Regions from separate parts of the Homo sapiens genome. Here regions 1, 2, 3 and 5 are each linked to region 4. The links are contacts of gene promoters, found by promoter capture Hi-C in human tissues and cell types (Jung and others, 2019). All regions are on one chromosome and are shown on one strand. The core of a region is centred on a gene start or on the middle of the fragment in contact, and the rest is flanking DNA. Distances in the headings are between cores, read along the strand shown. Region 1 overlaps CNTN1 (contactin 1). Region 2 overlaps MUC19 (mucin 19, oligomeric (gene/pseudogene)). Region 3 overlaps CNTN1 (contactin 1). Region 4 holds the start of CNTN1 (contactin 1). Region 5 overlaps CNTN1 (contactin 1).

What was found. The method cuts DNA at HindIII sites, captures the fragments that hold promoters and counts their contacts. A contact is called where the count stands out against the background at its distance.
Region 1: a fragment that was not itself captured here is called in contact with the fragment with the promoter of CNTN1 in region 4 in 5 of the 25 tissues and cell types used here (dorsolateral prefrontal cortex, heart right ventricle, hippocampus and 2 more).
Region 2: a fragment that was not itself captured here is called in contact with the fragment with the promoter of CNTN1 in region 4 in 2 of the 25 tissues and cell types used here (bladder and thymus).
Region 3: a fragment that was not itself captured here is called in contact with the fragment with the promoter of CNTN1 in region 4 in 3 of the 25 tissues and cell types used here (H1 embryonic stem cells, hippocampus and spleen).
Region 5: a contact is called between a fragment that was not itself captured here and the fragment with the promoter of CNTN1 in region 4, in 7 of the 25 tissues and cell types used here (H1 embryonic stem cells, adrenal gland, dorsolateral prefrontal cortex and 4 more).

The regions. Positions count from the first base shown.
Region 1 is chr12:40,853,652-40,856,351 of GRCh38, reverse strand. The region is part of intron 1 of CNTN1 (contactin 1); the gene reads right to left. Among named protein-coding and RNA genes, the nearest start is that of CNTN1, 160 kb to the right of the region's middle. The HindIII fragment of the contact is 5,315 bases long and covers 1-2,700 here.
Region 2 is chr12:40,553,865-40,556,564 of GRCh38, reverse strand. The region is part of intron 156 of MUC19 (mucin 19, oligomeric (gene/pseudogene)); the gene reads right to left. It also overlaps the pseudogene RNU6-713P. Among named protein-coding and RNA genes, the nearest start is that of CNTN1, 140 kb to the left of the region's middle. The HindIII fragment of the contact is 5,397 bases long and covers 1-2,700 here.
Region 3 is chr12:40,932,554-40,935,253 of GRCh38, reverse strand. CNTN1 (contactin 1) reads right to left here. Exons shown (of 24, transcript NM_001843.4): 8 at 1,694-1,793; 9 at 1,376-1,557. Among named protein-coding and RNA genes, the nearest start is that of CNTN1, 240 kb to the right of the region's middle. The HindIII fragment of the contact is 4,404 bases long and covers 1-2,700 here.
Region 4 is chr12:40,691,137-40,693,836 of GRCh38, reverse strand. CNTN1 (contactin 1) reads right to left here and starts at 1,398. Exons shown (of 24, transcript NM_001843.4): 1 at 1,245-1,398. The HindIII fragment of the contact is 18,580 bases long and covers 1-2,700 here.
Region 5 is chr12:40,884,354-40,887,053 of GRCh38, reverse strand. The region is part of intron 1 of CNTN1 (contactin 1); the gene reads right to left. Among named protein-coding and RNA genes, the nearest start is that of CNTN1, 190 kb to the right of the region's middle. The HindIII fragment of the contact is 7,874 bases long and covers 1-2,700 here.

The sequences.
Region 1 (2,700 bases), core at 194-2,693, 160 kb before region 4:
CACAATACAGAAATTTATTGAGTTTTTCACCTTATATTTCTCTTTCTTTCTAATGTCTTTCCACTTTTTTCTACTGTCATTGTCACTGCCTCAATCTATCTGAGTGGTCTTTAAACTGGTGTATATATATTCCTGAGGGCATACAAATCCTTCCAAGTTGTACTTGGAAAAAGATTTTAGATAATTAACTTAAGATACATTTATCTTCAGCTCTATCTTCAGACACAAGTGCAGGCTCTACTTTCCAGCTCCCTCTTTCCTAGTTACCTTCCTCTTATTTTACAGAAGAAAGACATACTTCTCACCCACCCAAAATTTAATGTGCATTGATTGAGCATGTAAACTCTTTGGGAGCACCAAACAAAAAGATAACTGATATAAATGTTGAGAAATACTGGTATGGCTATTGAGAAAGTGAATGGCTAGCAACTAAATTATTTCGTAAGTCAAGCAATTTCCATTTCTTTGCATTCAACAAAATTAAGTTTATTAAAGATAATTTTTGACAATAGATCAAATTCAAAACAGAATTAATATTAAACTCTGTCTAATTTTGGCAATAAGTAACATTCTCCCAAAGGTAGAGGGATTAAAATTTTAAAAGCCCGTCTGTTACATTAAGCTATACATTGCCAATAAAGTTGTACTTCTTTTGTCAGTAACAATTTTTTCAGAATTTGAAATGTAGTTATATAGATTTATTCAAGTGTTCAATAATAAAAATTTTATTGACAACTCATTCTAGAAAAATAATTAACACTTAAAACCTTATAGGAAATGTTTAAAATTAAATTATAACCATTTTATAACTAAAATGCATTATTAGATAATTAAATACTTTTGAGCATATGATATATAATAAAAGAGTGAAATCCATGAGAATGAAAATAGAAATTAAAAAGAAAAAAATGGCACAAAATTTTTAGAGTTGTGCAAGAGATATATCAAATATTTTTAAATAGATAATGACGAGCATTGAATCTCGGTATTATTCAGACTCTAATGGATACTATTAAGAGTAATACAACAGACAATTTAAAATGGCAAAATTTACAATATGCTGAAAATTACATTTTGCAACGGTTTAAACTTATGATGAATGTTTATGTCAATTCACAAGTATATGAGATGATATACAATTTTACAAAATTATTTTGGGAGTGTTTGAGGAACAAAGTTTGGTAACCACTAGACTAGGTCATTAGTATTTCTATCCAAGGTTACTGCACTACCCTCTAGTATTCTTTCTGCTTCACAGTCATGCCTCACTCAAAAATGTTTTCACAACAGTAGCCAGAGCTTTCTTGCAGACAAAAATTCAATCAAGTCACTTGTCTTCTTAATACAATCTAAGGGTCTCTCATTGCCTTCCCTATCACCTCCCCAGTGACACATTGCCACTGTTCCCCTATACCAGCACCCTCCGAGTACTGAACTACAGGACTTTTCAGCCCTCTTGCCTCTGGGCTCGTTCTCAAATTCCTCTTCTTTCTTGACTCCCTGACTCCTCTGGGCTATCTTCCTCCACTTTTTCTCCTTCCGCCATCTGCTCTTCTGATTAGCTCCTAATTATCACTTAGGTCTCAATTCTGAAATCAGTTGCTTTAGAATATGTTCCTTGGCTCTCCTACTCTGAGTTAGAAATCCTCTTCTTATGTTGTCATAGCACATAACTTCCAATTTAGAATGAGAAATGTTAACGGAAGTGAAAAGCTTTCACTTGCTGATCTGCCTTTGGCTCCTTAAATCCTCATATTTTAAATGGTTAGACATTTGCATGACAGTCTTTTTTTTCTTTTCTTATTTCTCCAGCTAGTTTCTGATCCAAGTTTAGAGACACAGAGTCTTGACTTAGAGACTTAAGGTAATTCACATCTTTAAAAAACCATGACCAAACTTTTAAATCTAGAAATATGAGATGAGATGAAACTAAATATGAGAATGTGGGAATAACTAATTATTCCCCCATGTTGTGTCTTGAATAAATCTTTATTCTTCAGGATTCAAAATAAATCAAACTTTCACCAAGAGTCAGTCTTTTCACATTCATCTAAATTCTCTCCCACTCACTTTTATCCCATGAGGAAATTCTATGCTCTTGCAATTTCCCTGTTAACATGTATGACAAGCTGACTTGTCATTTGCATATTTTTAATTTAATATGTGTATTTACCACTAGACTGTAAACTTCCTAAGTATAGATAGCATGTCAGCCTGTCTATTTACTTATCATTATATCCTTGAGAGATAGCATAGTACCTAGCATACAGTAGGAATGAGTTAAAGAATATTTAATAAAAATCTCTAAAATCAATCATTTTGATCTAGGATGCTGTAAAAGAAGTGTTGAAAAAAGCTGAGAAAATATTTGGAAAATTATTATAAATTTGGAGGTACAGGAAGCTTCATTCCGAGGCAGGTATACATAAACACATTTTTTCACTACTGAGGCATATGGTCAGTGGACTGTATATCTTCCTGCATTTTTTAAAGTTATTCAAAATAACTTGATATGATCAGAGCTGTTTAAACAAAAAGTAAGGGCAGAGGGGCTTGGGAAAGGAGACGGATAGAGCTAGAGAGGGAGCTAGACTAACTCCTGATATCAAAGCTATAGCCTTCATTGTAATTACCTATTTTATTGCCCAAGTTTCCCAATAGACTACAGTCTATAGGGGGAAAAAAAAGGATTGTATATCT
Region 2 (2,700 bases), core at 53-2,552, 140 kb after region 4:
ATAAAAATCAGACCATACTGTATCATCTATCAAATATTATTTTTAATTCCTCTAGTATATTCCCAAACTTGGTAGATGGCACCATCATCTATCCACCCAAGCACTCAAATCATGAACTAGGAGTCATCTAAATTTATTCCTCTCCTTTATCTCCTCAGCCACACTTGTTGATTCTAACTGGCCAACATCTTGCACACTCTTTCCGCCTCTGCATCCCCTTACGACTAGCTTATTTCAGTCCCTAATCATCTGTCACTTCCAAGAGACTTCAAACTATACAACATACCTCCACCCTTATTCTTACTCTCCTTTCATATCAATCTGCTACCTGTGACAAATTAATCTTCCCAAAGAATCCAACCTGGGCATGATAATTAACCTCTTTAAAAATCCCTTCTCATTGCCCATGGAATCAACTTTTTAATTTTTTGTGTTATAATTGAGGCCAATATTATAATATTCTTATAGAATATAGAATTGATGAGTGATCTTTTTTTCTTCATTTCATGATATTTCTGTCCCAACTTTGCAATCTAGAAGCTCTAAAATCTTCCCAACATTCCCTCTTTCAATGTTCTCTCAACATCTGGGTTGTTTTCCACAAGTATATTGTATTATTGTATTATATACTTCCCTGAAAATTCCATATTGTTTTACATCCCCCAGACATTTTAATAGAAAAGAGAAAATATTCTTTTCTGTCCTAATTCTTTCAAGTAAACAAAAGACCCCCAAGATGTCTTAAGCTTATTTCAGTCATCTTTTATTTATCCAGCCTGGAATTCTTGGTTAGTGGTGACTTTATTTGATATGACAGTAGTATTAGCAAAGACAAGTGTGGAAATACTTTACTTAAAAAAATTCCTGTCCCCATTTAGGTATCTACTTCTGGGAAGCTATGTCCTAACAATGATGTTTCAAATTAAATCTTTAGTTCAGGGTATTCCACAGCATTAATATGACTACCTTCAACGGACTTCAATAAGTCTTCAAATGAAAAGTTTTATCATCTCCTATCAGGGCCTAAATTTCACTAGTAATTAATGAAATCCCCTGTTTGTAATTAATTTCTAATAGTGGTATTGTTCAGTAATGAAGTTGTAGTTCCTGGTAGTAGAGGAAGAAGTTGAGATGACTTAATTTTGAAATCTGGAAAATATTTCATGTTATAGTAGAAGAAATATTCTCAAAGAAGATGGCCTTTTGCCTGAGGTACTCAGAGACAGCTTTCTTTTGTAACTTTGACTAATCCCTGTCGAAACTTCCAGCAAGTGTGATGAAAGAAGATATTCCAGGGGATTTGAAATGAAAATGAAATTGAGGGAAAGATAGTAAAACAGAGAGAGAGAGATCAAGAGAGACAGAGATCATAGTAATGACTTTTTTTTTAACCCAGAGAACAGCATAGACTTGGAAAAATTCACATTTCTTATAAGCCATCCAAGGGCTTCTCTATGCAAAGAGAAACAAAAACCGTACTTTCTCCTAGGCTTCCTCAACTGTGGCAAAACTCTATTCTGGAGCCCTTTTGCTGTGGTTAAATACTTTGGAAAGAAGTGCTTTTCCTTTGCTCCTCAGTTTTAATTCCTGTGGTGTTGCTCCCTCACGTTTCATAGGGACTTCTTGGAAGTGTGGGGGTGAATTTTTTTTAATTAAATTTCTTGGAACCTTAGTCATGAGGATAAACCCATGAGAATAGGTTTAATATGCAATAGAAGTCCAAGATGGGCAAATTAAACACTTTTACTAACCAAGACTGGCATTTTCTAGGCTCTTGAAAACTCCAGCTGACCATATGAAGGCAAGATGGATAAAGGATTCAGAATAACATATCATTCTTAGTTTCATAAAAATCACATCTAAAAAGCTGGTGTGGAGTGGCAAGTTGGAAATAAACAAAAACAAACAAACAAAAACAAGAGCCATCCATCTGCTGTCTTCAAGAGCTCCATCTCACATGTAATTATACCCACAGAGTCAAAATAAAGAAAGAAGGATCTACAATGCAAAAGGAAAGCAAAAAAGATCAGAAGTTGCTATTCTTACATAAAGGACTTTAAACCAACAACAGCAAAAAAGGACAAAGAAGAGCATTACATAGTGATAAAGTGTTTGATTCAAGAAGAAGAATTAACTATTCTAGACATATATGCACCCAGCATTGGAATATCCAGATTCATAATGCAAGTACTTCTAGACCCACAAAAAGACAGCTGCACAGTAATCGTGGGGACTCCAACACCCTACTGACAGCATTAGATTGATCATCAGGGCAGAAAACTAACAAAGAAATTATTGTGCTCACTTCAGCAGCACATATACTAAAATTGGGGTGATACAGAGAATATTAGCATGGCCCTAGTATAAGGATGACACAAAAATTCGTGAGGCATTCCATATTTTTTAAACATACAGCATACCAGAATCTCTGGGTCACAGCTAAAGCAGTGTTAAGAGGGAAGTTTATAGTGCCAAATGCCCACATCAAAATGTTAGAAAGCTCTTAAAGTAACAACCTAACATCACACCTACAGGTACTAGAGAAACAAAAGCAAACCAACCTCAAAACTAGCAGAAGACAGGAAATAACAAAAATCACAGCTGAACTGAAAAAAAAATTAAGATGTGAAAAACCATACAAGATATCAATGAATCTAGGAGTTTGTTTCTTGAAAGAATAATTAAAATTGATAGACGGCC
Region 3 (2,700 bases), core at 43-2,542, 240 kb before region 4:
TAAAGGACCTTACCTAGTATTTTCTTCCTTTTAGGAGGCCATTTCATGCAGACTTGATATGTATTGCATTAATGTTACTGTGGCATTGGACATACGAGTCTGAAGTTCAGAGTAAATGTTTGGGTTAGAGCATTCAGGGTACAGAGTGTGTCTAAAGCCATGATCACGAGTGGGATCATAAATGGAGTGACTGAAATGGAGATGGGGTTCACAGATGGAACCCTGATCACACCAATGTTAGAAAAGTATGGAGTTGAAAGGCAATGGAGAATGAAAGATTATACAAGGAAATTAATAACAAAGTAGGTTGCAGACATGAAGTGCAGAAAGTGAATCATGAAGAAGGGAGGGACCAACTGTGGCAACCACTGCTGTTAGATCAAAAAAAAGTACAACTGAGAATTGATCATTAGCTTTAGCAATATGGAAGTCTGTGGTCATGAAAAGAAAGGTTTCTGTGGAGAGGCAGAGATGCAAATCATGTTGGAGTGCAATTAAGAGAGAAGAAAAACTGGAGATGGAGACAACACTTTTAGAGAGAATGCGTGAATCTGTCAAATTTTTTATTCCTTTTTGGGAGAGACGGGAGAAAGTGAAATGGGACAGTAGCCAGAGTTAAAAACGAATAATATTGTGGAAGCCCTCGATGTTTATTCACTTGTGACCTGCAAAGTTCATGTTGTGGAACATTATAGAAATTATTTCAGTCTGGAAAGTTTCCAGTGTGGCCTGAAAAAAAATCTGTCTTCCCAAATGTAAGTTTATTTTAATGTGTGAAAATCAAAGGTTTGTGCCATGATAATTTTGTCAAAAAAAAAAAAAAAGATTTCTTAAACCAGTGGTTCTCAAAGTGTGACTCCAGGACCAATATTATCAGCATCCTTTGGGAATTTGTTAAAAATACAAATTCATGAGCCCCTAACAGACCTCTGAATGAAAAATTCTGAGAGTTTGGCCCAGCAATCTGTTTTAACAAGCCCTCCATGTGATTTTGATGCATGCTTAAGTTTGCAAACCACTGACTTAAACTAAGTCATAACACATAGCTTCTTCTATAAATAAAAAGATACTGAAAAAAGACAGTGATAAAATGAGTAAACAAACTACATTAAGTGTATATTCTGAAAATTACCAATAACACTTCTATCAATCTATTGCTATTACCTATGGTTCAACTGGTAATAAGTTCGTAACTTCTATAACTCATAGTTGTGACTTCATTAGACATATGAGAAATATTTTATCTTTCTCCATGATGTAACATGCATCACTGTTTTTAAAACCATTAATCATTATATAGTAGTTTTTCATGTATGGAAATGGCTCTAAATAAGATACTGATGAAATTTATACAAAATTAAAATAATGTATCTACCTTGAACATAAATTCTTGCTTGATGTTTATCCTTTCCTCTAATGTTCTCAGCCTCACATTCATAGATGCCTTCATCTTCTAGCTGAATATTGAAGATCTTAAGAACAGCCCCAGAGGTGCTAATCTCAGCAGTGCTTGGCATTGGTTCTAGAACCTTCCGCCATCGGATATCCGGAACAGGACTTTAAATAGAAGATACAAGGGTTAAAGTTTCACACACTTAAAAGACAATTACTTTATGTTTATAGCTAAACAATTATTTATTTCCTAAAATGGTACTATTTCTATATATATTAATAAAAGTGTCAGTATACTTACTTTCCAAGTGCAAAACATTCTAAGGTCACATTTTGGCCCATCAATGCATATACATCCTTGAACTGAACTACAATATCAGCAGGATATGGTTTTGTTGTTCCTAATATTAAGAGAAACACAAATATCCACTAATTATTAGGCACAATATTAGTTATTCTTAAACATGGTAATTCTACAGGATTAGAGCTGCTCCAACATGGAAGCTTTTCTCTGTACAGGTACAGGTCATATCATAATGGATAGACTTGTTTGTTTATGCACAGTATGAATATAGTATAACTTCTCAGTATTTTCAATAATATTGGCTCGTTCTGACAGCTGCATAACCATTGTGACTCAATTTACTAAAAAAAATCCTGTCTTTAGTGAGCAACAGATATGTGTCAAACATTGTGATCAGTGCTGCATGGAACTCAGGAAGGTGGAGAAAGAAAATGAGGGAGAAGGAAAGAGAAGAAGGAGAAGAGAGTAGAAAAGAAAGACGCAAGGCAAGAAACTAAGGAGAAAAGAAGAAATGCCCACAGAGATAAAGGCAAAGGGAAACAAATTGAAAAGAGAGAAGGAGAGAGGGAAAGAAGGAAAACATTTACTCAGACAACACAGCACTCTTCAAACTAGACACTTTATTTCATTTATTTAGCACATCAGTCCTGAAAGATGTATTAATCCTTCAGGCTTACAGAAAAAATCAGGCTTAGAAAGGTGAAAGGCATTGTTTAGGATCACAAATTGAGTGTGTACCACACACTGTAAAATGCTAAAGAGACAAATAAATAAATAATGATATATAAGCCAAATCAAAATGGGTACTTTGAAAGAGTGACTGATGAGGACGGTAGTTAGAAGTAGGTAAGGGCTATAGCACTCTGAGGCAAATATGGCATTTAAATTGGACCAGTTTAGCTTGAGCAAACACCATATTACGACAAAGCTCCAGGAGTGTGCAAGGAATTTTAAAAGGTCTAGGAACTCAAATGATGCTGAAGTATATGAGCTTGAACCCACAA
Region 4 (2,700 bases), core at 149-2,648:
AATGCTTCTTCTCCGGCTTTTCCCCCAATGGAGAATTGGATTCCCTTTTGCCCCGCCCACTCAGTGCTTCCAGATTGCTTGAGAAGGCCAAGGCAGCCGGCTCAGCAGCAGGGAAGCCGGGCTGGGTATGCAGGAGCTATATATAGCTCCACCTTGGAGATGTGCACACACAAGCACACGTACGAATACCCATGCCCGGTTTGGCATGAAAATAAATAAATAAATAAGGAAAGGTCGCAGCTATCCGCTTTCCCTCTTTCCCATCATCCCAATTTTTCAGGAATTTTCAAAGCAGGGTGTCATCAGTCCCAGAGGGTGATGCAGCGTCGGATCTCTCTGCAATTCTTCTGCCTACTGCTCCCAGCAATCTGACTCCTGCAGGAACCGGCACTGGGCCAACACCTACTACCCAGATGCGGTCACCTAGGGAGGCAGCCTCGCAGCCGCTCGGAGCCCATCCGGGCACAATCACTTGACTCCCTGGAAATCCCTGAAGCCAAATCCACCTTTCAGAAACTAGGTGTGAAGGTGGTTCCCGTAGACAGCGCCAGGCTAGGAGGGAAGGGGCCGTGGCTCCGCGGTCTCTCCCTCCCACCTGCCGCAGATCGTGGAGAAGGGCCGGTGCCTTCTCAACGGAGACGTAATTAATCGGAACGTGCCCTTCGAGTTGCAGGGATTCTTCCCCACCCCCATCTCCTGAAGGGAGCTAGATCTTAACAGAGGGGTCAGGGGACAAACAAGTCGCTTCCTCCCCTCTCCGCAACCGCTCCCAGGTTTTCCGGGATGCGCTAGCCAGGCGCCCAGGTGGGATGGGAAAGATGAGCAGGTGCGGGCCGGCGTCGGGAGAAAAAGACCTGCAGGCCCCGGGCTGCCGACCTCTCTGCTTCCCCACCCCTCCCCTGCCGAGGCGATATGGCATCCCTGGGGCGAGTTCCCGGCGCTGGCGGCGGCAGCCTCCGAAAGGAAAGTTGACGAGACACAGACCCCGAGCTCGGAGCCCTCTTCTAGGGCACTGCCGTCCTGCCTTGCCCGGCACCCCAGGGCTCCGGCATCCCGCACCCCTGCTTCCCCGCACCCCAGCCACCTCCGCCCCAGTCCTTCCCGCGCCGCACGGCGAGAGCTGCAGGGACCACAGGAGATTTGGGGGTGACGAGGGCTGGGCGGGGCTGGGGGAAGGGAAGCAACAGCATGGAAATGCGCATTCTTTATTTTATCTGCAAAGAAGGAAAAGTCCAGCTTCCTACCTGTTCCCTGCTCCTGCTCGCCTCGGTGCGGCACAGCTGGACCATACCCTACAGGTTTCCCACTTCCGCTGCAAACACCTGGGAGCGCATCTCCCCACCGGCGCCCCTCCTCGCCTCGGCGGAGCCCACCCTGGCTACTTGACAGCAGAAGCCCGGCCTTTTAGGGCGGTTATTGGGGCAGCAGGGAAAGTGGGGCGGGGACCACAGGGAAACCCGCTTCTCTGATTGGACAACAGGGATATCACTCTCACCCCCAGGACCAGCGCAGGCTGCAGACTTGGGTAGCTGCTAAACCCAACTGCAAAGGGTCTCTGCAGTGCCTGAAACCCAAACCTGCTGCTACCGGATCAAGGACCCTTGCTGGAGAGAAACTGGTTTGATGACTTGTCATTTGGGGCCCCAAGAGGGAGGGAGGGTCCAGGCATAACTAGACACCCAGCACTTTCCTGAAGCTTCCCTGAAGGGACCATCTGCTCCGGGAGATTTGTCAGGCGAAAATACCAAGCCAGCGCCTCATAGAGAAGAATGAGCTTCGATTAGGAAATAATAAGATACTTATGTGGGAAAAAATACACACACAGAAAGGAAAATAAAACGATGTGAGGTTTTTTTTTAAAGTTTCCATTTTTGTCCAGATGTAACATGGCAGTTTTTCTTGAGAAAAGACGGAATTGCTTAGTCTGTAATGCAGAAGACCCCCTAATATTCCCTGGTAGAAACAGTGTTTTAAACGGGAAAGCACTGCATAATAACCTCTCAAAAAAAAAAAAAGGGTAAAAGAAATTAAGGCCAAACTGCATGAGAGATTTGCTTTGGGGCAGTTCAGTTTGTGGCAAAAGTCTTAAAATAATCACCATTAGACTGATTGATAATTAAGTGATCTGTTACTTTTCTATTGATAGTAGTTTATCATTTCTTTAGTACTCAGACACTGAGAGGATGTTTATGCCCCCAAACCTAAGTGATCCCAAGCCTGCCTTTTATGTGAAGGGAACAGGGTAAAATAACTTTGTGTCCAGTTGCCATCTCTGCCATTTATTCAGGTGGAATCTGGAAATTTTGGAATTCAAGAGACTCCTTAAATGAAGGAACGTGCTAGAACTACCACGTGTAAAACTGGGAGTGTAGGGTGTCTTAGTATATAGTACCATGTGAGGAATCAAGTTGCCTTCTGCCTGCAAATAGCCACATTCTTCTTCTATCTGAATTAAGTAGCCATCTTAAGTGCTGAGCATAAGACACAACTCTCATTCTCACAGAGCTTCAAAGAGCTTATGACAGGCTTGGGACACTGGACAACTGTTAGAGAAGATGACATTGCTATTAATAAATATAGACTCTACTTAGTGGTTACGGTTGTTATTACTATCATCAGGTAAGGCTCTTCATAATGTTTTCTTCATAATACTGAAGGAATCCGATTAATGCATTTGAAGGTGGGGGCCGGGCGAGGTGG
Region 5 (2,700 bases), core at 30-2,529, 190 kb before region 4:
AGCCTGCATTGCCAAGTCAATCCTAAGCCAAAAGAACAAAGCCAGAGGCATCACGCTACCTGACTTCAAACTACACTACAAGGCTACAGTAACCAAAACAGCATGGTACTGGTACCAAAACAGAGATATAGATCAATGGAACAGAACAGAGCCCTCAGAATTAATGCCACATATCTACAACTATCTGATCTTTGGCAAGCCTGAGAAAAACAAGCAATGGGGAAAGGATTCCCTATTTAATAAATGGTGCTGGGAAAACTGGCTAGCCATATGTAGAAAGCTGAAACTGGATCCCTTCCTTACACCTTATACAAAAATTAATTCAAGATGGATTAAAGACTTACATGTTAGACCTAAAGCCATAGAAACCCTAGAAGAAAACCTAGGCAATACCATTCAGGACATAGGCATGGGCAATGACTTCATGTCTAAAACACCAAAAGCAATGGCAACAGAAGCCAAAATTGACAAATGGGATCTAATTAAACTAAAGAGCTTCTGCACAGCAAAAGAAACTACCATCAGAGTGAACAGGCAACCTACAAGATGGGAGAAAATTTTTGCAACCTACTCCTCTGACAAAGGGCTAATATCCAGAATCTACGATAAAAGACTCTTAACTTTTACAGCCATAAGCCCTTTTAATAATCTAATGAAGGTTATATAACATCTCCCCTAAATAATGCAAACCAACACACAGGATTTGATAGATCAATATTATGTTAAGTCCATGGGAATAGATTTAAAACACTGTGAAGACAGGGCCCATCGCTGTCTGGTCTGTTTTTTATCCCAGTGTCTTCTACCATACTGGAAACACAGAATTTAGCACTGTTTTGGAGCTTAGGCAAATATAGTTCAAAATGAAGCAAAAATTGTATTTACAACAATCAAAAAAGAGGATGCAGAACTATTATTTTGCATACGGTATGATTATAGACCAGGATATCAAAGAAAATGGATTTAAATAAAATATGAACATTAAGAGTTCAGCAAAGTGACTAAGCAGAAGATAAATATAAACTAAACTATAGTTTTCTTTTGTACTAACAATGTCTACTTAGAAATAAGAAAGGTGAAGCCTCAGCCTGCAGTATTAACAAACACACGATTGATGACCTAGAAATACTTTTAATAATCAGTACAAGAAATGAAAAGCTATAAATATTTATTGATAGACTTAAAAGAAGCATTGACAAATTGGAAAACTATACCAGCTCCTGATAACAAGACTCAATATTCTTAAAGTTTTCCAAAATGACATACTTTCAATCAAAGCACAAATGGGATTTCTCTACACTTGAAAGAATAAGTCTCAAATTTATTAGAGAAGAAAAATGTTTGAAAAGGACATTAAGACTATTTTGGAACAAATTATAGCTAATGCATACATAGCACTTACTACTAACCACTGTAAATACATTTAATTCTCATTGGAGTTCTCACAGAAAATCTCTATGGTAAATGCTATGAATATCTCAATTTTACAGATAGAGAAATTGAGACACAAAGATGTGAAGTAGCTAAGGTCACACAGTTAACTAGTAGGCATGTTGGGATTCACAACCAAGCAGTTTAGCTCTAGAGTCCATGTGCTTAAGTACTCTACCAAATTGTTTCTCAAGGCTAATAAAATAACTATAATCCCACCAATTGAAAATCATAATAAAAACTTCATAAAAAATGGTGTTCTTTACAGAACAAACAGATTCTATAAGAACTAACATTTTCTGAGCATTTATTGTGTGCCAGACACCTTACATGTATTATCTCACCCCTCACAAAAACCTTCATATAGGTTCTTCTTTGTGTCCATTTTAGGGATGAAACACCTGAGTCATGTAGGTTAAGCAATTTGCCCAGGATTGTGGTGTTTCTGGTACTAGTAAGTGGTGGAATTAAGATTTAAACCAGGCTTACATTTATATTGCTTGCATCCTCTATTTGTGAAAGTGCTAACAGGTAAAGATATGAAATACGACTCAATAAAGGGCACTGAGGCAACTAAATAGCTAGAAAAAAATCAATAAGCATTCTAATCTCACTTCATATATCAACAAAAACTCAGATGAATTAAAAGTCAAAATATAAAAATCAAATTAACTTACAGAAACTTAAAAAGGAAATAAATACACCAACTCCCTGAATATAAGAAAATACAAAGGAAAAAATTTAAGTTGTATATATAAAAGTTATGAATGAATTTTAAGGGCAAAATGTAAATTGGGAAAAAACTTCAAAAAGATTACAGACATAGCTATAAGGAACTCACAGCAGTTAATATATGAAAGACTATTATAATACTAATAGACTAATGAATAAAGAACATGCTAAACTTACATGAATGAACATACATGTATGACATATGAATAAAAAATGCAACTTAATGCTGTATATATATTTTATTTGATAAAATTTGCACAGCATTAAAATTAACAATACTCGATGTTTATGTGGATGCAATGATTAATATTTTCCTATACTGCTACAAGAAGTAGTAACTAAGACAACATTTTCAGGAAATAATTTAGTAATATGCATCAAGTATCTTAAAAGTATTCAGATACTTTGATACAGTGATTCCTCATAGAGAAATCTATTCTGATTAAATAATTTGATGTGTTTACATATAATAGAGCAATATGATAAAAATATTAGGGAAGCCTTAAAATTACACTTTCAAATGCTTTATAATAATCA